Regions from separate parts of the Homo sapiens genome. Here regions 1, 2, 3, 5, 6 and 7 are each linked to region 4. The links are contacts of gene promoters, found by promoter capture Hi-C in blood cells and fetal thymus (Javierre and others, 2016). All regions are on one chromosome and are shown on one strand. Each heading gives the region's core, a stretch centred on a gene start or on the middle of the fragment in contact. The rest is flanking DNA. Distances are from core to core; before and after follow the strand shown. Region 1 has its middle 8.4 kb from the start of RBM33-DT. Region 2 overlaps NCAPG2 (non-SMC condensin II complex subunit G2). Region 3 overlaps INSIG1-DT (INSIG1 divergent transcript). Region 4 holds the start of UBE3C (ubiquitin protein ligase E3C). Region 5 holds the start of ESYT2 (extended synaptotagmin 2). Region 6 has its middle 2.3 kb from the start of NCAPG2. Region 7 overlaps RBM33 (RNA binding motif protein 33).

Region 1 (2,700 bases), core at 101-2,600, 1.5 Mb after region 4:
GAGAGGTTTGCCTCCTCTTGCAGGCTTCTTGTTCATGAACTCCACCAGGTTCTCACAGGAAAGGTGGGAGAATCCTGAGAAAGTTCCTCATTATGTTGTTTGAGGGAGGGAACAGTGTCCACTCGAGAAACTCCATTGGTACACACCTCTCTTATCTCACTTATGGAAAAAGGCCTTCAGGGAGAAAGGCCACAAAAACCGTGGCCTTAGGGCAATGGGGAAGCCCATTTCCATTGTGCAAAGGGGACAGAAAAATAAAAAGCTCTACCCTAGGAGAGGATCAGGGATACCTGCCGAGCCCAACACTGCAGCTGGTGGGAGAAGTATTTTGAAGTCCACATCCCTGAGACCCAGACACTCCCTGTGTAAGAGGATGCTTAAACAGAACATCAGAGGATTCTGATCCTCTCCTATCTCCTGTCACCAGAATAATAGATGTCAAGTAAAAACGACAAAATACAGTTGGGAGGCCCACAAGAGACTGCTTCTTTCAGGACTACAGCGCAAAGAGAAGACCCAAAGCCCAGAGGAAGCGCAGACACTGAGAAAACAATCTCACAAATGAGCCCATGTTCTAAGTACAAGGTGTTGCCGGAGGAATTTGGAGCCTTTTGTGCACAGAGGATAGCTGTGGCAACAACAAATATCTCACTAAGCCCAACTCCTGAATAAGATAGCAAACTCATACTAACAACCTACTAGACAGCAAGATGTGCTCATCTCCAATCATAGAAAATATTTACCATAGTATACACTATCACTAAAAAAAAAACGAGGTTTCAAACAAAAATTCAGTGTACCAAAAGGAAATGCTAGAAATGGAAATGATAGAAATCAAAAGCACAATGATAGAGGTGAAGAATGCCTTCAATGGGTTCATTGATACACTTGACATGGAAAGAATAAGTTACCTTGAAGAAATATAAATAAAAATTATCCAAACTGAAGCAAAGAGAAGAAGGAGTGCAAGAAACAGAGCAGAGTATCTATGAACTGTTCAACAACATTGAATGGTCTAACATATGTATAGTTGGAAGAAGAAGAGAGAAAGGAGTGGAACAAATGTCTGAAGAACTAATTTTTTCAAGATTTATGACAGGCACCAAAACATAGACCCAAGAAGCTCAGATAACACCAAGCGAGATAAATACCAAGACACAAGCAAACAAGCAAAAGCCCCCATATCCAAATATATCATGTTCTAATTGCTGAAAAAGAAACATTTTCTCTTTTCCTAGAGAGGAAAAGAACAATAAGAATTATAGCAGCTATCTCATCAAAAAGCATACAAGCCAGAAGACAGTGGCATGACCAATCTTTTATGTACTGATGGAAAAACCTGTTGTCAGAAACAGTTACCCAGCAGAAATACCTAAGGAGCAAAAATGGAGGGAATTCATTGCGAGCAGACAAGCTCTACAGGAAATGTTAAAAGAAGTTTTTTAGGCACAAGGACTATGATAACAATCAGAAATCTGGTTCAACACAAAGAAATGATGAACACGGTTGATGATGAGTGTGGTTGAAATTGCATATATGACGGTAACATTTTTCTCCCTGTTTTTAATGCTCTGAAAGATTGATTGGAGTAAAAATAGGGAAAATGTATTGTGTGCTTAGAGCATATGAACAAGTGAAATGCATGACAATAATACAAAGGATGAAAGGGAGGAAGTGGTCATATGTTGCTATAAGGTTCTTATACTACACGTGAAGAAGTACAGTATAATATTTGAAAATAGATGCATAGTAATTAAAAATATAAATTGTAAACCCTAAGGTGACCACCAAAAAATTTTTTAAAGAAAAGTGTGTGTGTATATATATATATATATATATATATACACACACACACACTTTTATATATATATGTGTGTTTATATATATATGTTTAGGAAAGATAAAAGGAAATCATTTTTAAAAACTAACTTAATCCAAGAAAAAAAGAAATAACAAATTAAATAAAAAACAGCTAACAAGATGGTAGGTTGGAATCCAACCATATCAACTCAATTTCTATTGAATGTGAATGATCCATACACACACAACAGTCCTAACACCAAAAAAGTGTCAGATTGCATTAAGATGTAAGAATGAAATATAGGTTCTCTATTACTGTGGGAGGCTGAAGCAGGCGGATCACTGGAGGTCAGGAGTTCAAGGCCAGCTTATCCAACATGGTGAAACCCCATCTCTACTAAAAATATGAAAAAAAAAAATTAGCCGGGCGTGGTGGCAGGCACCTGTAATCCCAGCTACTCGGGAGGCTGAGGCCAGAGAATCTCTTGAACCCGGGAGGTGGAAGTTTCAGTGAGCTGAGATGGTGCCACTGCACTCCATCCTGGGCGACAGAGTGAGACTCCATCTCTAGAAACACACTTTAAAGATGTAGATAGGCTAAGTGCAAGGAAAGATATGCCATGCAAACACTAATCAAAAGAAACATTGTCTTCCATGTAACCCATTAGAATAGCTGTTATCAAACAGATGAAAGATAACAAGTGTTGGAGAGGACATGGAGAAAAGGGAACCTTTTTACACTTGGTGGGTATGTGAATTAGTACAGCCATGATGATCCAGCAATCCCCCTACTGGGTATATGCCAAAGGAAATGAAATCACTAGCCAAAGAAGTGTCTGCACTCCCATGTCCATCGCAACATTATACGGCTGTATATACTGTAGCCAAGATATGAAAGTA
Region 2 (2,700 bases), core at 147-2,646, 1.6 Mb before region 4:
AGTTTTACTGTATTGAAATTTAAATGATGGTACTTTTCAAGTTTTAACAAAACTGTAAAACTAGTTATTAATTTAGTCTAAGTTAATGAAAATATTTGATTATGAAATATATAAAATTTTAGTTACAAAAGATGTAAAAATATCTTAATGATTTTTAAGAAAACTTTTCACATACCCTCATCCTTCACTGTGCGAGTGTAATTAGTTTGTTGTGACAAAGTATCTCATCAAGCTTCTTATTCTTAGCATCACTTGGATTTATGTATGTTTTATAGTACATTGTTTTATTCTGAATTCTTGAGTTGAAATACAGTGTCTTATTAAAAAGTCACCCCAATCATAATGAAAATAGCTTCCAAATGCTTTGTGAATTTTACTATCAGTTTATTTGTATGGTCTGCAAATAACTAGTGAAATGATTAGTGCTAACACTGTAGTTGCTATCAACTTCCCAGTTAATTCAGGAATGTTATATTAGTGTAATGACATTCAGATACCTACAGATTATAATTATGAGCATTAGTATCATTAATCTAATTATTGAGCTTTTCTGTTAATAAAAGCACTGCAGTTTTTGTATTCATTATGGTAATTGCTTTGACTGTTTTTCACCTCTGAGCCAAAATTTGAGGCTGGCACATTGAGGGATAGTAGTGGATTATTGATTGGTCAGTAGACCTGTCTTGGCTCTGGTGTTAACAGAGATACCATTGGTGTTGTTACACTGAGGTTTGGTTAGCCTCAGCATCTGCCTTTCTAAAATTGGTGATACGATTTCTCTGAGACTTCCAGTTCCAAAAATCTCTTTTCTATTATGTCTGTTGAGGGTCTTTTTATAACAATCGTCAAACAGTTTTTTAATTAACATTATTTGCATTTTATAACTAATGTATATAAATCTTTGGCAAGTTAAACATAACTAATATTATTTGCTTAGCAAAGCTTTAAATAATATATAAAGTCATGATACTCTAAACTGTTGACTCTGAAGTAATAAGAATTTGCCTTACTAATTGGAAAATTACTGTGCTGTATTTTAGGTATTTTATATGCATTACCTGAGTCTGAACGAAAACTACAGAGTTCTATTCAGGATTTGTGTGTTACCTGGTGGGAGAAAGGCCTGCCTGCCAAGGAAGACACAGGAAAGACAGCCTTTGTCATGTTACTAAGGAGGAGTCTGGAGACTAAGACAGTATGCTCACTTTTTATTTTTTTAAAGACAGGGTCTCTCTCTATTGCCCAGATGGAGTGCAGTGGCATGATCATAGCTCACTGCAGCCTCAAACTCCTGGGCTCGAGCAATCCTCCTGCCTCAGCCTCTCAAGTAGCTGAGACTTCAGGAGTGCACCACCTAGCTAGGACTTTATTTTTAAACGTCTTCCTAACATTCTAAACCTGCGCTATTCAACGTAGTAGCCACTTGCCACAGAAAGCTGTTTAAATTTAAAGTTAAAAATAATGAAAAATTCAGTTCCTCAGTTGCATTAGTCACATTTTAGTAGCTCTACAGTGAAATGTGGCTAATGTCTACTGCACTAGACAGTTCAGATGTATAAAATCTTCATCATCGAGGAAGTTCTTAAACTTGCTGGATTTTTAATTATTTTCCTTATGTTTTAAAAAAATGTTCTGTAGAGCTATAGGGGGCATTTGCAAATTTTAAAATCTGTTTTTATTTGTCGTTATTTTTTAATCTTTGATGAATCAACTAGAATTACCATTATTTATGATATAAAATATACTTGATTTGAAATATGACTTTACTGTTCATTGAAAAAGGTATCACATTTTTTGTGTCATTCCTAGGGTGCAGACGTATGTCGGCTTTGGCGTATCCATCAAGCTTTATATTGCTTTGATTATGATTTGGAGGAAAGTGGAGAAATTAAAGATATGTTACTTGAGTGCTTCATAAATATTAATTATATCAAGAAAGAAGAGGTAAATAGGTATTTGTTTTTTGATCTGTTTGTGAGCTGCTTCTTAATAGATGTTTCTCCTGTGTTCACATGGTTCCTGTCTGCACCATGCTCGGTGTTGCTTAGCTACCAGGAGCTATTTACTGCACATGATTTTTACTGCATGGCAGTACTAGAGAAGACATTTTACAAGTCCTTGCTTATTTCATCATTAAATTGGATGGTAACAGGTGGCTGTGTGTTACCTAGGGGAACCGTAATTACATTTTAAATTAAGAATGATTAAAAATAAGGTTGAGAAAGCACTTCTCTATGAATGAGATCTGGCCTTCTGCCCTAATTCCATTTTAATTGCCATGTACTCAAAACTGTCATCCCATAATATCCTCCCTTTCTTTTTTCTACCCATCCTGTAAATCCAGAGAGGCTTCTGGCCTGTTGCTGCACTGCCCGTCCTGGGGTCAACTCCCATATGAGGCTACTGAGCACCTGAAATGGGACCCAACTGAACTGAGATTAGCCATAAGTATAAAATACACATGGATTTGAAGATTTAGTGGGAAAGAAATGAACATAAAATAGCTCATTAATAATTTTTGTTCTATACTTAATATAATAGACAATATTTTTATTGTCTGTTATATTAAATATTGCTTTACATAAAATATATTATTAAAATTAATCTTCTTTACTTTTGTTAACATGACTACTAAAGAATTGAGAATTACAGAGAGGCTCGCATAGTTCTTCTGTGTTAGGGGCCTTCTGCAGTTGTTTA
Region 3 (2,700 bases), core at 25-2,524, 1.8 Mb after region 4:
GAGTAGAACAGTTATGATTGGCAGAGAGATGACCCTCCAATGTGAAGAGCTGTTGGTGAATCCATCGCAGAGACCACTGCAGATGGTGACTCTGCATTGGAGTGGAGGGTGGGCCAAGGCAGACTGTGTAGGATGAGAAGTCAGTGTGCCTCGTACAGCCCTGAGGCTGGAGCAGAGGAAAGGGGCTGCCAGGGGCAGTGGCAGAAGGTCCAGTAAGATAGGAAGAAAGTGTGCGACCAAGAAATCCGGGGGGGGGATGTTCTGGAAAGGAGAAAGTGGCAGCCATGGCATGCAAGACAGAGACCAATCATGTCTGGGGGTCCTGTGATGTGGTCAGCAGGAAGCTCGGTGTGAGTGGCCTGAGTCACGGGGGAAGCTGCGCTTCCATGAGATAAGGAGACAAGGAAAATGAGGCTGCCAGTGAAGATCCCTCTGGAAGGGGTCTGGCTGTGAGAAGGAGGGGAGAGATGATGGAAGCTGGAGGAGAGAGTGATGGGGAAAGAGTTTAGTTTGTCTGTCTGTTTGTTTGTTTATTTTGAGACAGAGTCTTGCTCTGTCAGCCAGGCTGGAGTGCAGTGGCTCGATCTCAGCTCATGCAACCTCCACCTCCCTGGTTCAAGGGATTCTCCCTCCTTAGCCTCCCACTCAGGATTACAGGCACCTGCCACCACACCCGGTTAAGTTTTGTATTTTTGTAGAGACAGGGTTTCACCATGTTGGCCAGGCTGGTCTTGAACCCCTGACCTCAGGTGATCTGCCCGCCCAAAGTGTTGGGATTACAGGCATGAGCCACGGCGCCCAGCCTGTTTTGTTTTAAAAAATGAGAGACGTGAACAAATATAAACGCTGATGGACCCAGTAGAAAGATTGAAGAAGAAGGGCAGGGCGTGGTGTCTCACGCCTGTAATCCCAGCACTTTGGGAAGCTGAGGCAGGTGGATCACGAAGTCAGGAGTTCGAGACCAGCCTGACCAACATGGTGAAACCCCGTCTGTATTAAAAATACAAAAATTAGCCAGGCGTGGTGGCACATGCCTGTAATCCCAGCTACTCGGGAGGCTGAGGCAGGAGAATCGCTTGAACCCAGGAGGTGGAGGTTGCAGTGAGCCGAGATTGCTCCATTGCCCTCCAGCGTGGGTGACAAGAGTGAGACTCTGTCTCAAAAATAATAATAATAAAATAAAGAAAGACTGAAGAAGAGGGAGTGAGAGCAGGCAGTGGAGAGTGAGGTCCCTGAGGAGAAGATTAGAGGAGGAGATTGGTGTCTAGGACCAATCCTAGTGGGGATTCCTGGGCAGGCACACCCTCTACTGAGGAAGTAGGTGGGAGAGATGGGGGCGGTGTGGTGGGGTCGCCTTCCCCTCAGGAAGTTTCTGTCATTTCTGAAGAAGGAGGAGAGCTCCTGAGTTAAGAGGGAGACAGGAGCGATTGGAAACTGGGAGTGTAAACCCTTTGGTGTGGAGTGCCTGGTGGAGGTTTGTGATGGCGACTTCACAGGGCCCAATCTGCAGGGTGGCGTGGGAGTTCTTCTCTACGACACTCCAGGCTGGGTAGCAATGGCAGAGCATTCGAGGGGCCTCTAGAATTGGTTTTTTCCTGGTGGTGCCAAGGAGGGGCAATGGAGCAGTGGAGGGCAGGTTAGCGGCAGGCGGCTGGTGGCGTCATGGAACCTGGGTCAGGTGAAATGGAGGTGAAAGGAGTATGCCGGGAGGAAGAGGGCCCCACAGAGGGAAGGGTCAGTGTGTAGAGGCTTGCCCTATGTGAACACTGGGTATTGGCCCTACAAGGGTAGCAATATTCATTGATTAATGCAACCCAAGCTCCCACAGATTCATTACTGGATGGGTGATCTGAAGGCGAGAGCCTGGGCAGGAGGAGGCTGTGTGGGCACATGGCGTCAGGGGAGAGCCACTGCAGAGGGTGGCAGTCCCCACGATGAGCCTGGGATTGGGTGGCTGGAGTGGTGTGGAGTGAGTCACCAGGGCCAAGGAGGTCAGGGAACCCAGAGGCGAGGCCTTGGATGAGTCATGCTTGAGTGGGACGAAGTCCTCAGCACAATGACAGGTTTGGGATATGGAGACAGACTGTGTGTCAGGTGTCTGAGTCCCTGGGGAGTGAAGGCAGCAGATAGCAGTGGCAGAGGGGGTGCACTGGGTGGGATGGTGTGCCCCCAAATTCATGTCCTTCTGGGAACCTCAGAATGTGACCTTATTTGGAAATCGAGTCTTTGGAGATGTAATGAGTTAAGATGAGTTCCCACTGGAGTAGGGTGGGCCCAAATCCAACATGACTGTTTCCTCCTAAGAAGAGGAGGTGAGACCCAGAGACAGACATGCAGGAGAAGCCGTGTGAGGACGGAGGCGGACATGCGCCATGGTTTGCTGGGAGCCACCAGAGGCCGGAAGGAGTAAGGAAGGATTGTCCCGTAGGGCTCTCACAGGGAGCAGGGCCTGGAAACACCTTGCTTTCAGCCTTCTGTCCTCCGGGACTGGGAGGGATGTGGAGCATGGAGCAGGAAGGAGTGAGGGGCGGAGGGGCCAGGGGCTTGCCACCTGTGTGGTCATGTCAGGCCTTGGCCCCACGGTCGGTGGCTACCACCCAAAATATAGACACACCATATAATCTGTGTTACTCAATTTCACGGCACCTGAAAGATGAGTGTTCTCTCTATCTGGTGAAGAACGTGAAGAAATGGAGTCCT
Region 4 (2,700 bases), core at 201-2,700:
TTACCCAGGTTCCCTTCTAACCTCAGAAACCACCAAACACAGCCCCACAGCACAATCTTAATAACAGCAGTTCCTCCTTGGCCTGCCAGCACCCACTCTGCGTTATGTGCCTACCTGGTGGTTGTGATATACAGAATATACTGATAGACAAGAAAAACTAGGTGAAGCATTTTAAAGAACATTTCAGAAATGATGGGAAGGGGTGGGAAGGGAGGGGCGGGAACAAGACCACACAGTGTTCAACGACTTAGCGGTTCCAGTGAACCAACTGATGCCCGTCTTCAGGGACAGACAGCTAGAAATTCTAGACTAGAACAGAGGCGTCATGGTTTGCCTACCCTTATCCTAAACAATTACCATGCGAACAACTTAATGTCGATCACAACAGATGTAAGTCCGGAGTCTCTCCACAGTTTCCAGGAGGCTGGTGGCAAATAATTGCCCTCGTCTTGGATTCAAACACGTGGCTATTCATGAGACGTTCTGCCTCTACTTTAGAGATTATCGACATCAGCAAATGCGTGCCGTTCACCTTCTACAACCGAAAACGCCCTTCAGGTGGCATTCGAAAAGCAGCCACTCCCTGATGCCATGCGGGAGCGAGCATGGAAAGCGCATTTCTGAAAGGAAACACCCAGAAAGGGTAAGTTCACCTTGGGTGGCACAAAGCGTGCCAGGGTTCACCGGCCTCCTGCATGGAAGGGAGCCACGGCCAGCGCGCCCGGGTCCCGAAGCGCAGTGGACAGGCAAGGCCCCCACGGGCGCGGCCTCGAGTTCCAGCCAGGGAGGCCCCGAGTCCAGTCCTAAGCCCCAGCCAGAGTCCTGGCCCCAAGTCTCGGCTCCGAGTCCAACCCCGAGTCCCGGCCGGAGCGGCCCCGAGATCCGGCGAGGAAGCCCCGAGTCCCCGCCAGGGAGGCCCCGAATCCAGCCCCAAGTCTCGGCCCCGAGTCCAGCCCCGAGTCCAGCCCCGAGTCCCAGCCCCGAGCCCCGGCCGCGCAGGCCCCGAGCCGAGGGCGCCCCGCCAGCCCGGCCCTCACCTTCCTGCTCGCGCCGCCAAGGGACACCTTGGGCCGCGTCTTGAAGTCGCCTTCGAAGCTGAACATCCTGGCAGCCTAGCCCATGTGCGGGCAGCGCCGCCGCGGAAGCAGCCGGGCGGGCGGGGCACGGGGCGGGCTGGGAGGCTCTCGGCGCCCGCCCGCCCGGCCCGGGGCAGCGAGGACGCGGCGGCCGGGAGGCGACCCGAGCCCGCCCCCGGGCTGTACCCTCCCAGCCCTGCCCTGGGGCGGGAGGGGCGGCAATACTGGAGGGGCGGCCCTGCCTCGCCTGCCCCTCATCCACGCCGGCCACAGCTCGGGCCGCTGCAGGGGCGCCCAGCGGGCAGCAAACCCGGCGCTTGCACCTGGAACTGCCGCCTCGGGAGGGAAGATGGCGGTCAGCCGTCAGTGCGTGCGCGGCCCTGCAGACGTGCGCGGCCCTGCAGACGTGCGCGGCCCTGCAGACGTGCGCGGCCCTGCAGACGTGCGCGGCCCTGCAGACGTGCGCGGCCCTGCAGACGTGCGCGGCCCTGCAGACGTGCGCGCCTCCGCCATTGACGGCACGGCGCTCTTCCCGGCGGTTCCGCTAGCGTGCGCGGCCCCGCAAGGCGCGCTGGAGCCTGGGGAGGACGGCGGTGACGCGGGCTGGGCACGCGGCGGAGTGGGCGGGGCCTGGTGCGTGCTGGGGGAGCGCGGCGAGGGGCGCGGGAGGTGTTGGGTGCGGGGCAGGGTGCGGGAAAGGTGGAGTGCGAGGCACGGGCCGGGATGGGGTGCAGGGCAGGGTGCGGGGTGCAGGGTGGGGTGCAGGGGCCGGCACCCGGAGCGGGCTGGGAGCGGCCAATCTGGTGCCAGACTCGAGTGAGGCGGGAAAGGAGCAGCTAGGCCCAGCCCGTCTGTTTACATCCCACCTGTTCTATGTCTATGACACGCACAGACGGACGTAAATATTTACCATGTACACAGACATGCGCAGATTTGCCTCATACATAGCACACATATGCATCTATAGATACAGCATCAATACATATAAATATGTATCATGTACACATACCTGTGTATGCAAAAATATTTGCTCCTGGACTTACCATGGGGCTTTGTCCTGATAAACCCATCGTAAGATGAAAATATTGTAAGTTGAAAATGTATTTAATGCTACAATAAACCCATCACAAAGTCAAAAAATTGTAAGTTGAGCCATTTTAAGTTGGGGACCACCTATACATAAACATGTGTCTTATATCCACACATACGTATACATAATATCTCATATACATGTGCATATACATATATATCATACACGATTGAAACCAATTTCTAAAAATTGATTTTTGGTTGTATACAAGGTGTGCAACATGATGATTTCATAGAGACATTGTGAAATGACTACCCTCTTTGTGTGTGTGTGGTAAGAGTACATAAAATCTACTCTCTTAGCAAAATTTCAACACACAATACGATATCATCTACAGTCGTCCTGCGGCCGAGCACGGTCGCTCACGCCGGTAATCCCAGCACTCTGGGAGGCCAAGGCGGGCGGATCACCTGAAGTGAAAAGTTCGAGACCAGCCTGGCCAACATGGTGAAACCCCATCTCTAATAAAATACAAAACTTAGGCCGGTGTGGTGGTGCACGCCTGTAGTCCAAGCTACTCTGGAGGCTAAGGCA
Region 5 (2,700 bases), core at 21-2,520, 1.7 Mb before region 4:
TCCTATGTAAAGGTGACCCTGCTTCTTCTGGGCATTTGTTTATTCATTCAGTACCTGCCAGTGCCCTACTCTGTTACAAATTCAGTAAAAATTTCCTTGGAATTCACTGAATATGCTCAAAAACAGTCAAGTAGGATGTTCTTTGCTACTGTTTGGCTTGGAGTTTCCTTGAAAGAAACTACAGAACAAATATAATTAACTCGATTGAATTCACTGGAAAGTAAAGTGATCAATAGTTGTGTTTTTGAGTTAACTGAAAAGTGACCTCAGGAATCACAGGAAAGGCCCAAAATTAGTCGTTTGAAACAGCTATTCATAGTTGGCCACAATATTAACACCTTCGGCGAAGCTGCGTGGTGCCCGGGGTGGAGTTCCCGAGTGTCAACAGCGTCCCTTGGGCGCTTGCGGTGGTCTTTGCCCGGCACTACCAGACCCCTCAGGGAGGACTTTTGGGATTAAAGGCATCTTAAAAGCCAACTGAACTGTGTGAGAGTTGTCAAGGTCACAACGGAGTCGTTTGTGTTTAAAACCCTGACAAGCAGGGTGGGAAGGGCCCCAGAGGCAGCGTTCTCACGCCGGAATGCCCGATAACAAGACCGTCCCGAGAGACTCCGCAAAAGCCACAACCTTGCACACTGGCTAGGCAACCTCACACCGAAAAATACCGGAGGACTCCCGCCAGCGGCGCCCGTCCGACCTCCGGCGGGCGGCGCCCTCTCACCCGTCCTCCTGGCCGCAAAATGACCGCAAACAGGGACGCCGCCCTCTCATCCCACCGCCACCCCGGCTGCGCTCAGCGGCCGCGCACCCCCACGTTTGCCAGCAGCTCCCAGAGGCGGTCAGCCTTTGGGTTTGACGACGGCAACTTCCCGGGCCTCGGCGAGCGCAGCCACGCACCCGGAAGCCGCCTCGGGGCGCGACGCCGAGCCAAAACCGCCCGCGGGCTCCGAGGCCACAGGCAAGTGGGGAGGGTGCCCCGTGGGGCTCGAGGGGACGCAGGCACGCCCAGCCCACGCACCGAGCACTCTCCTTTCCCGTCCCCGGCTCCCGCCAGCCGAGACACAACGCTCGCGTGATGACGTCGTGCGCCTGCCCGGCCCACTCCAGTAGTCTCCGACCCGGCCCACGGCCCGCCCCGCGCGATGACGTCAGTATCCACCCCGCCCGCTCCCGGTGACGTGCCAGCCCCAGGCCCACGCCGCTCCCGCCCCGCGTGATGACGCCACCGTCCCGGGCGGAGGCGGGCGTGCGGCGGAGCCGCGTCCCCTCAGAGGGGCGCTGGCGCGGGGCTGAGCCGCCCGGGATCAGCGCGAGCACCCAGCCCGCCTCGGCCGGGAGGGCAGCGCGGCACTGCGGGGCGATGAGCGGCGCCCGGGGCGAGGGCCCGGAGGCGGGCGCCGGCGGGGCTGGGGGCCGCGCGGCGCCTGAGAACCCCGGGGGCGTGCTGAGCGTGGAGCTGCCCGGGCTGCTGGCGCAGCTGGCGCGGAGCTTCGCGCTGCTGCTGCCCGTGTACGCGCTGGGCTACCTGGGGCTCAGCTTCAGCTGGGTTCTCCTCGCGCTCGCGCTGCTCGCCTGGTGTCGCCGCAGCCGCGGCCTCAAGGCCCTGCGCCTGTGCCGCGCGCTGGCGCTGCTGGAAGACGAGGAGCGCGTCGTGCGCCTGGGGGTGCGCGCCTGCGACCTGCCCGCCTGGGTGAGTGCAGACCCCTGCCCGTCCCGACCCCTGACCACCAGTCCCGATCTCCCCTCGTCCAGGCAGGCACTCCCCTCCCCGCGACCTGCCGCCTGGGTGAGTGCAGACCCCAGCCCTGCCCCGGCTCCCGCCTTCGTAGTCCCCCACCCACCCCGGTCCAGGCAGGCGCTTCCCTTCCGCCTGGGCGAGTGCAGACCCCAGCCCCGGCCCCCGGGCCGGTTCCTGCGACCTGCCAACCTAGGTGAGTGCAGACCCCGCCCCGCCCCCCGGCCCCGACTCCCAGCCTGCTGGCGACCTGCCCGCTAGGGCGAGTGCAGACCCCAGCCCCGCCCCGGCCTCCGGCCCACTCCCTGCGAACCTGTCCGCCTGGGGCCGCCGCCCGCTGCTCGCCGCTCCCGCCCTAGTCCTGAGTGCTCCGTGCCCTCCCTCCGTCCAAGTCGGGCGTCCCCTTCTCCGCTTCCCCGCCCGCCCAGGCTCCGGGTCCGGGGCGCGTCTGCCCTCGTGAAGCCTCCCCTCGCCGTCCCGCGCGGCTTTCTCGGAGACCCCTCTTCACAAAGCCCGCTTCCCTCCCCCGGCCTGCAGACCCCGAGCGCCAGCGGCAGGTACCGGGCTTGGCGCCCCCTCTTCGGCCGCGGCCCTGCCCGGAGCGCGCGCTTCCTCCTGGTGCCGCCCGCGGGGTCTCCTTAGGGGCCTGAGCGGCCGGTTCTGCTCTCAGAGCGCCCAGCGCGATTCTCGTGCGCATTCCCAAAGCCCTGCCGGCCTGGAAATGCTCCGGGTGGCTTCAGCTTTTCCTTCTCTCTGTTTTTTAAAAAACGTAATGACAGCTGGTGGGGGAGAAGTTAACTTTTTCTTCTACCGGGAGAAGACGCACTCGTGTCTTGGTTGTTTCTGACGCATTTCAAGGGCAGTAAGTGTCTCTCGAAAGATGTGGAGATATTAGATAATTGAAAGATTGTTTCAGTTTTTTTGCAAGTATAATTGTGAGACTGAGCATTTTTATATGGGATCGA
Region 6 (2,700 bases), core at 128-2,627, 1.6 Mb before region 4:
CTTTGAAACTTAGTTTTATATTGCCTTGCCATGTGGTCCACCTTTAATTCTATAAACCTTTTCTAATTTACCACATTGTAAGATTTTAAGAACACAGATGATCTCATGCCTCATTCATTCATTTATTCAGAAAATATTTTCTTCAAGCATCTAAAATGTGCCAGGCCTTACGCCACGGATATAGGACTAAGGATGACACAGTGCTTGACATGGAGGAGATGATGAGGCCTGTGGTAGGGGGCTAAGAGATTGCATTACAGTGAGGGTTATGGGGTTCAGGAAATAAACCCCTATAGAAGGTAAAGCTTGAGCTGAGTTCTGGAGGAGTGTCATCTATTTGCGGGGAAGGTCACATTCCCAGTGAACGGTGATGGCAGCGGGAGGCAGACAGGTTCCTGGGTGGGAAGGGGCAGGTCCCTGGTGAAACCCCACTTTCAAGCCAGGGACAGCCTGAAGTTCCTGGGCCAGGATGCCAGTTCCTGGTGAAGTCCGAGATCCAGAAAGAGAACTTACTTGATGCCTTTCAGCCAATCAAGTAGTGCTTTTTCCAGGCCTGCCCATGGGCCAATCAGCACACACTTCCTCCTGTCTATGGACCAATCAACATGTACTTCCTCCATTCTGAGCCCATACGTGCCTGTGGATAGGAGCTACCCACTTCGAGTCTCCTCTCCACTGAGAGCTATTTGGTCAGCTGTTCTCTGCCTTGCTCACCCTCCAGATGTCTGCCAAACCTCATTCTTCCTGGACATGGGACAAGAACTTGGAACCTGCTGAATGGTGAGAGCAAAACGAGCTGTAATACTTTCCTGGCCAGCTTGCCAAGTTGCAGGTGGGAGCCAAAGTGGCTGTAACGGGTTCCTGGCCGGGTCGCTGAGCTGCGGGTGGTGACACGCTCCCAGACTGAGGGAGTGAAGAGTGGTGACCCTTGTAGAGGCCCAGGCCTTGGGATTCCCCAAGCCAGAGCTATAATGCTATAGCCCTCCCACCCTCTGCTGGCGCCCAGTGGCCACCCCATGCAGTGGGAAGCAGCGGTGGGGCCGGGACAGCCAAGGAGCCGTGGACCGGTGTGGGGCGGCAGGACCAAAAGACCTGTAACACAAATGAGGTGAAACATGCCGCCCCGGAAACACGACCCCCTGCTAGCCACGCTGTGGGTGATGAGAAGGACAGAAGAGCTGTGGCCCTTCTGGGAGCCCAGACCTCGGGGCTCCCCGAGCCAGGGCTGTGACACAGTGTAACCCCCCTTTGGGGCTCTGTGGCTCCTGGCATCTGTGAGCTTTCGGGTGCCACCATGTTCCCCTTGTCCAGATGCTGATGCCTGCAGTGGAAGCCACTTGTGGTACCTCTGGTCCAGCCACAGCCTTGCATGGAGCCGGCAGCTGTGCAGGCACCTAGAGCTGCCTGCTCCACCACAGCAGCTGCATGGCTGGGTGTGCGCAGTGGTTGGACCCCATGCTCGCTTGCTCACATACCCCTTGCCGCTCTGCACCTGGCTCACCCTTGGCAGGCGTGGGATCTGGGTTGGTAGTGCAAGCCGAGTGCAACCTGCTGGGCTGAGTGGGCTCGAGCAAAACTCTAGCAGAGGCACCGCTGGCCACGGAGGTTTCTAGCTGGTGAAGCGATACCCAAAGGATCCTATGACATTAGTGGCTGCATGGGCAGGTGCATTGGGGGTGCACTGGGCGCTCCTGCTGCCCTGCTTCCACGTGCCTCTGAGCACTGCACTACATAGACATTTAGGCCTCATAACAACCCCCTAGAGGAGGCTGAGCTCTGCATTATACAGACATTTAGGCCTCATAACAACCCCCTAGAGGAGGCTCAGTACTTAAGTAGGTCCCATTTGATAGATGAGGAAACTGAGGCTCAGTCGTCCATGGCTTGTCAAAGGTCACCAGCTAGTGAGCACAGAACCAGGTTAGCCCAGGTGGTACAGCTTCAGAGCTCACATGCGTAACTTGTTACATTATTCCTACTCAGGAAGTGGAAACCCCAGGAACAGATGGCTGATTGGAGGAGGGACCAGCATAAGGAAAGGGGCAGGATTCAGGGGTGGGAGGGGAAGTCGATATCTGTTTTGGATGCATGTCAGCACCAGCGTGGGAGTAGGCAGTGAGCTGTTGAAAATTCTGGAGTTCAGAAATAACCGTGTCTTGCAAATCCAGATGCAGAGGTCACTGCTTGAAGGTGGCAGTTTGCACCTTGGATATGAAGGAAATTGCTAAGAAGAAAGCAGTGAGAAGATGAGGGCACCAAAATTCAAGAAATGGCAGGGAAGGATCTGTGTATGGAGGGAGGAGGAGGTCAGAGGTGGCTGGAGCCCCAGGATGAAATAGGCAATGTTAGATATCGGCCACCTGTTGACAAGGGTCCCAGACTCAGCATCCTCTGAGTGGGTCTTCTCCCTCCCCTCTGCAGCCTGCCTTGCTTCACTGTTGCAAGCTTCCTAGTAAACCAGTCTTCTCCCTGCTATAATTTTATATTGCTTGTTGAAACGATATTCCAACAAGTAACATAAATATTTTTGATATACTAGGCTAAATAAAACATATTTAAAAATTAATGTCACCTATTTATCTTCATTTTTCTAATGTGGTCACTAGAAATTTACAAGTGCACTTGTGGCTCCCATGATGTTCCTATTGGTTGGTGCTGTGCTCCCACAGTGCAACGACTTCAATCTCGCCAAGACCTCTG
Region 7 (2,700 bases), core at 24-2,523, 1.4 Mb after region 4:
ATTGTTTTCCTTCAGTCCTCCTGATGGAGTTTTGGTATTTTGTCCCTCCCCAAATCTTCTGTTGAAATGTATCCCCAGTGCTGGAGGTGGGGCTTAGTGGGAGGTGTTTGGATCATGGGGCGGATGACTGTGAATGGCTTAGGCCATCCCCTTGGTGATAAGCAAGCTCTGAGTTCACAAAAGATCTGGCCATTCAGAGTGCATGGCACATGCCCCGCCCCCCACCCCACACCACCATGCTCCTGCTTTTGCCATGAAATGCGCCTGCTCCCCACTCTGCATTCCACCATGATTGGAAGCTTCCTGAGGCCTCCCTAGAAGCCAAGTAGATGCCGGCACCATGCTTCCTGTAAAGCCTGCAGAACCCTGGGCCAATTAAACCTCTTCTCTTCATAAATTATCCAGTCTCAGGTATTTCTTTATAGCAGTGCAAGAACTGCCTAATACACCTCCCTAAGAGGTAAGTAGTAGTATCCTCATTGTGCCCATTAAACAAACTTCAGTCACACAATAAGCGCTGGAACATCTTTGTGGCTCCAAAACCAGGGGAGGAGTTTACACTAACATATTTTGAAACTATTTTCAGACAGAGTTGAAACAAACGGGATCAACAATTAAATCACTTTAAATGAAGGGCTACTATAATGCTGTGCTTCTGAATTTTTCTGAAGATCATGCTAAGCAATGAAGGCTTGAACATAAGTAAAAGGTTGTTTCATTTTGTAAGAAAAAAATGAATTTTTTTTTCTAATTAAAAGAACAATTATTCCCTTTTGACTTAGCATGAGGAAAAGCTAATTCTACAGAACAGTTTCAAGTTCCCGGGTTTTACTCCAGTTCACACTAGAATGTGAACTAGCATACACATTCCTAGGTTGTGGCCAGGAGCGTAGTTTGGATCAGGTGAACAACTTCTACCCATGGGTCAAATTCTCCCATTGACTCTTCGATTCAACTTGTCCCTTTGGATTCTGTTGATCACATTCAAATTTTACTTTATTAGTGGTTTTGTTTTTGAGAAAATTTTCATTTCACCTTTCCCAATGGACAGACGTTTATTTCAAGGTACACTTCAGCCCATACTGTGGTTGACACTACAATCTCTGTCAAGAAGTAGGCAAGCGTTACTCTGAATGGCATCTAATACAGCTTGGTGGTCCTAATCATTACTTGTAAACTGACAAGTCCTATTTTAGCCACAAAATCAGGTATTACAACAGCCATGCTGGGGAAAGGAAAATATGGGTTTTGATACTACCCAGATACCACAGATGCTACCCACCACCAAGCTACCCGGCTATCTGGAAACTGCTGGTGACGTTTCTGCCCAAATTTTGCTGCCTACTTTGCAACTTGTGCTTTCGCCTGGGGTTTTACCATTCACTCCAACTCACGGGCGGCACACAGTGACATTCGGCCTCTCCTGGGTTTCCAACGTGCTCAGATTAAACATCACGATCCCAGCTACCATTTCATGTCATCTCTCAGAACAAATAGCAAGCAGAGTGCACCACGAGAGGAGTGAACTGCAACGCGCTAGACTCACACTTGGCCCAATTTATATGGCAGGATCAATGTGGAAACAACGCTTTCAATTCCCTTTTACTGCATATACCAAAACAACTTCCTGATTTTGACTTTTGATTTTAGTATGTTGTAGTACAAATATCCAGGAACAAATTCTTCAACTGATTACATCTGAGAAACAAATTGATTACATATTTTTATACCTATACTCACACATACAGACAAGATTTGAATAAGAACCAAGCCAAATTAAATCTACCCATTTATTTATAAGTCTTCTATAAGGTTATAGTTATGCATATAATTACAGCATTGAAAGAGATCCTAAAATTACTAGTACTTAGTTAAGTAAATTTTAAAATACTGTTGATTCAAATTGAATTTTAGAAGGCTGTTATCTTAACATCCACATATAAGTGTTGTATGTGGGTGACAGACTATACATTCTATTCATAAAAAGTATGTTTGCTTTGAAACTGAATTTTCCCAGGGTGGTGTTCGCTTTTTAACTCTTCAAACAACACTAGGTTCAGACAGCATTTTAAATATCTTCTACTTCCTCCAAAGCACATGAGAGAGAAAAGAAGTTTTGTCATCTCTGGTCAAACCAGAAACATTTTTTTCCCACAAATGATTATCTTTTAATGCTATAAAAATCGCTTTTTAGACTAGTTTTTTTTGTATATTTATAAAAGGCACTATTTGAATTAAGTAAGCTTAGGGAATACTTTTTATCAGCTTAATCATTACAAAAAAAAAGAGGTCTGTAGCCCCCAACATTAGCAGGACAAATTTATTTATAACAAATCGTTTAAATGCATAGATAAAAACACCTACTGATATTGTCAGGGCTTCCTGCAATTTGACAGATCAAATCTTATTTTCACTCTTAAACCCCATGAAGAAGTGCTATCACTGACTTGCATTCACTAGCAAGCAAATTGATTAACCCCCTCTATAGAAATCTCAACTCTTGATTATACCTATCAGACGCTAAGCAGCATTATTCTAGAGTGACAACACTTGACAAATTCCCCAACCATTTTTCTCAGCCTTTGTGGCCCTGCTAACTTGTATTAACCCTGATGAAAAATTAATTTTCCTTATCTTCTTCTAAACCCCAAAATCCAAATCCGCCAAACTGGCAACTCTTTCTGTAAAGGTATTATGAAA

What was found. The method cuts DNA at HindIII sites, captures the fragments that hold promoters and counts their contacts. A CHiCAGO score of 5 or more calls a contact.
Region 1: a contact is called between a fragment that was not itself captured here and the fragment with the promoter of UBE3C in region 4, in 3 of 17 cell types (naive B cells, total CD8 T cells and monocytes). The highest score is 6.2, in naive B cells.
Region 2: a contact is called between a fragment that was not itself captured here and the fragment with the promoter of UBE3C in region 4, in 1 of 17 cell types (monocytes). The highest score is 6.6, in monocytes.
Region 3: a contact is called between a fragment that was not itself captured here and the fragment with the promoter of UBE3C in region 4, in 2 of 17 cell types (naive B cells and total B cells). The highest score is 5.4, in naive B cells.
Region 5: a contact is called between the fragment with the promoter of ESYT2 here and the fragment with the promoter of UBE3C in region 4, in 4 of 17 cell types (naive B cells, total B cells, monocytes and 1 more). The highest score is 6.4, in naive B cells.
Region 6: a contact is called between a fragment that was not itself captured here and the fragment with the promoter of UBE3C in region 4, in 8 of 17 cell types (monocytes, neutrophils, M0 macrophages and 5 more). The highest score is 12.8, in monocytes.
Region 7: a contact is called between a fragment that was not itself captured here and the fragment with the promoter of UBE3C in region 4, in 1 of 17 cell types (M1 macrophages). The highest score is 6.2, in M1 macrophages.

What each region holds. Positions count from the first base shown.
Region 1 is chr7:155,634,701-155,637,400 of GRCh38, reverse strand. No RefSeq gene overlaps it. Among named protein-coding and RNA genes, the nearest start is that of RBM33-DT, 8.4 kb to the left of the region's middle. The HindIII fragment of the contact is 7,915 bases long and covers 1-2,700 here.
Region 2 is chr7:158,689,063-158,691,762 of GRCh38, reverse strand. NCAPG2 (non-SMC condensin II complex subunit G2) reads left to right here. Exons shown (of 28, transcript NM_017760.7): 5 at 1,041-1,195; 6 at 1,810-1,944. Among named protein-coding and RNA genes, the nearest start is that of NCAPG2, 14 kb to the left of the region's middle. The HindIII fragment of the contact is 904 bases long and covers 945-1,848 here.
Region 3 is chr7:155,290,537-155,293,236 of GRCh38, reverse strand. All of the region lies in intron 1 of INSIG1-DT (INSIG1 divergent transcript), which reads left to right. Among named protein-coding and RNA genes, the nearest start is that of INSIG1, 6.0 kb to the left of the region's middle. RefSeq lists a cis regulatory region at 1,683-2,282. The HindIII fragment of the contact is 8,705 bases long and covers 1-2,700 here.
Region 4 is chr7:157,137,676-157,140,375 of GRCh38, reverse strand. UBE3C (ubiquitin protein ligase E3C) reads right to left here and starts at 1,450. Exons shown (of 23, transcript NM_014671.3): 1 at 1,038-1,450. The coding sequence starts at 1,103. RefSeq lists silencers at 819-888, 939-1,328, 1,609-1,958. The HindIII fragment of the contact is 7,086 bases long and covers 1-2,700 here.
Region 5 is chr7:158,828,079-158,830,778 of GRCh38, reverse strand. ESYT2 (extended synaptotagmin 2) reads left to right here and starts at 1,270. Exons shown (of 23, transcript NM_001367773.1): 1 at 1,270-1,690. The coding sequence starts at 1,361. RefSeq lists enhancers at 307-416, 2,427-2,496 and silencers at 727-1,456, 1,547-1,646, 1,697-1,886, 1,977-2,026, 2,107-2,306. The HindIII fragment of the contact is 12,010 bases long and covers 1-2,700 here.
Region 6 is chr7:158,705,756-158,708,455 of GRCh38, reverse strand. No RefSeq gene overlaps it. Among named protein-coding and RNA genes, the nearest start is that of NCAPG2, 2.3 kb to the right of the region's middle. The HindIII fragment of the contact is 2,140 bases long and covers 308-2,447 here.
Region 7 is chr7:155,755,410-155,758,109 of GRCh38, reverse strand. The region is part of intron 14 of RBM33 (RNA binding motif protein 33); the gene reads right to left. Among named protein-coding and RNA genes, the nearest start is that of SHH, 56 kb to the left of the region's middle. RefSeq lists an enhancer at 2,016-2,700. The HindIII fragment of the contact is 1,944 bases long and covers 302-2,245 here.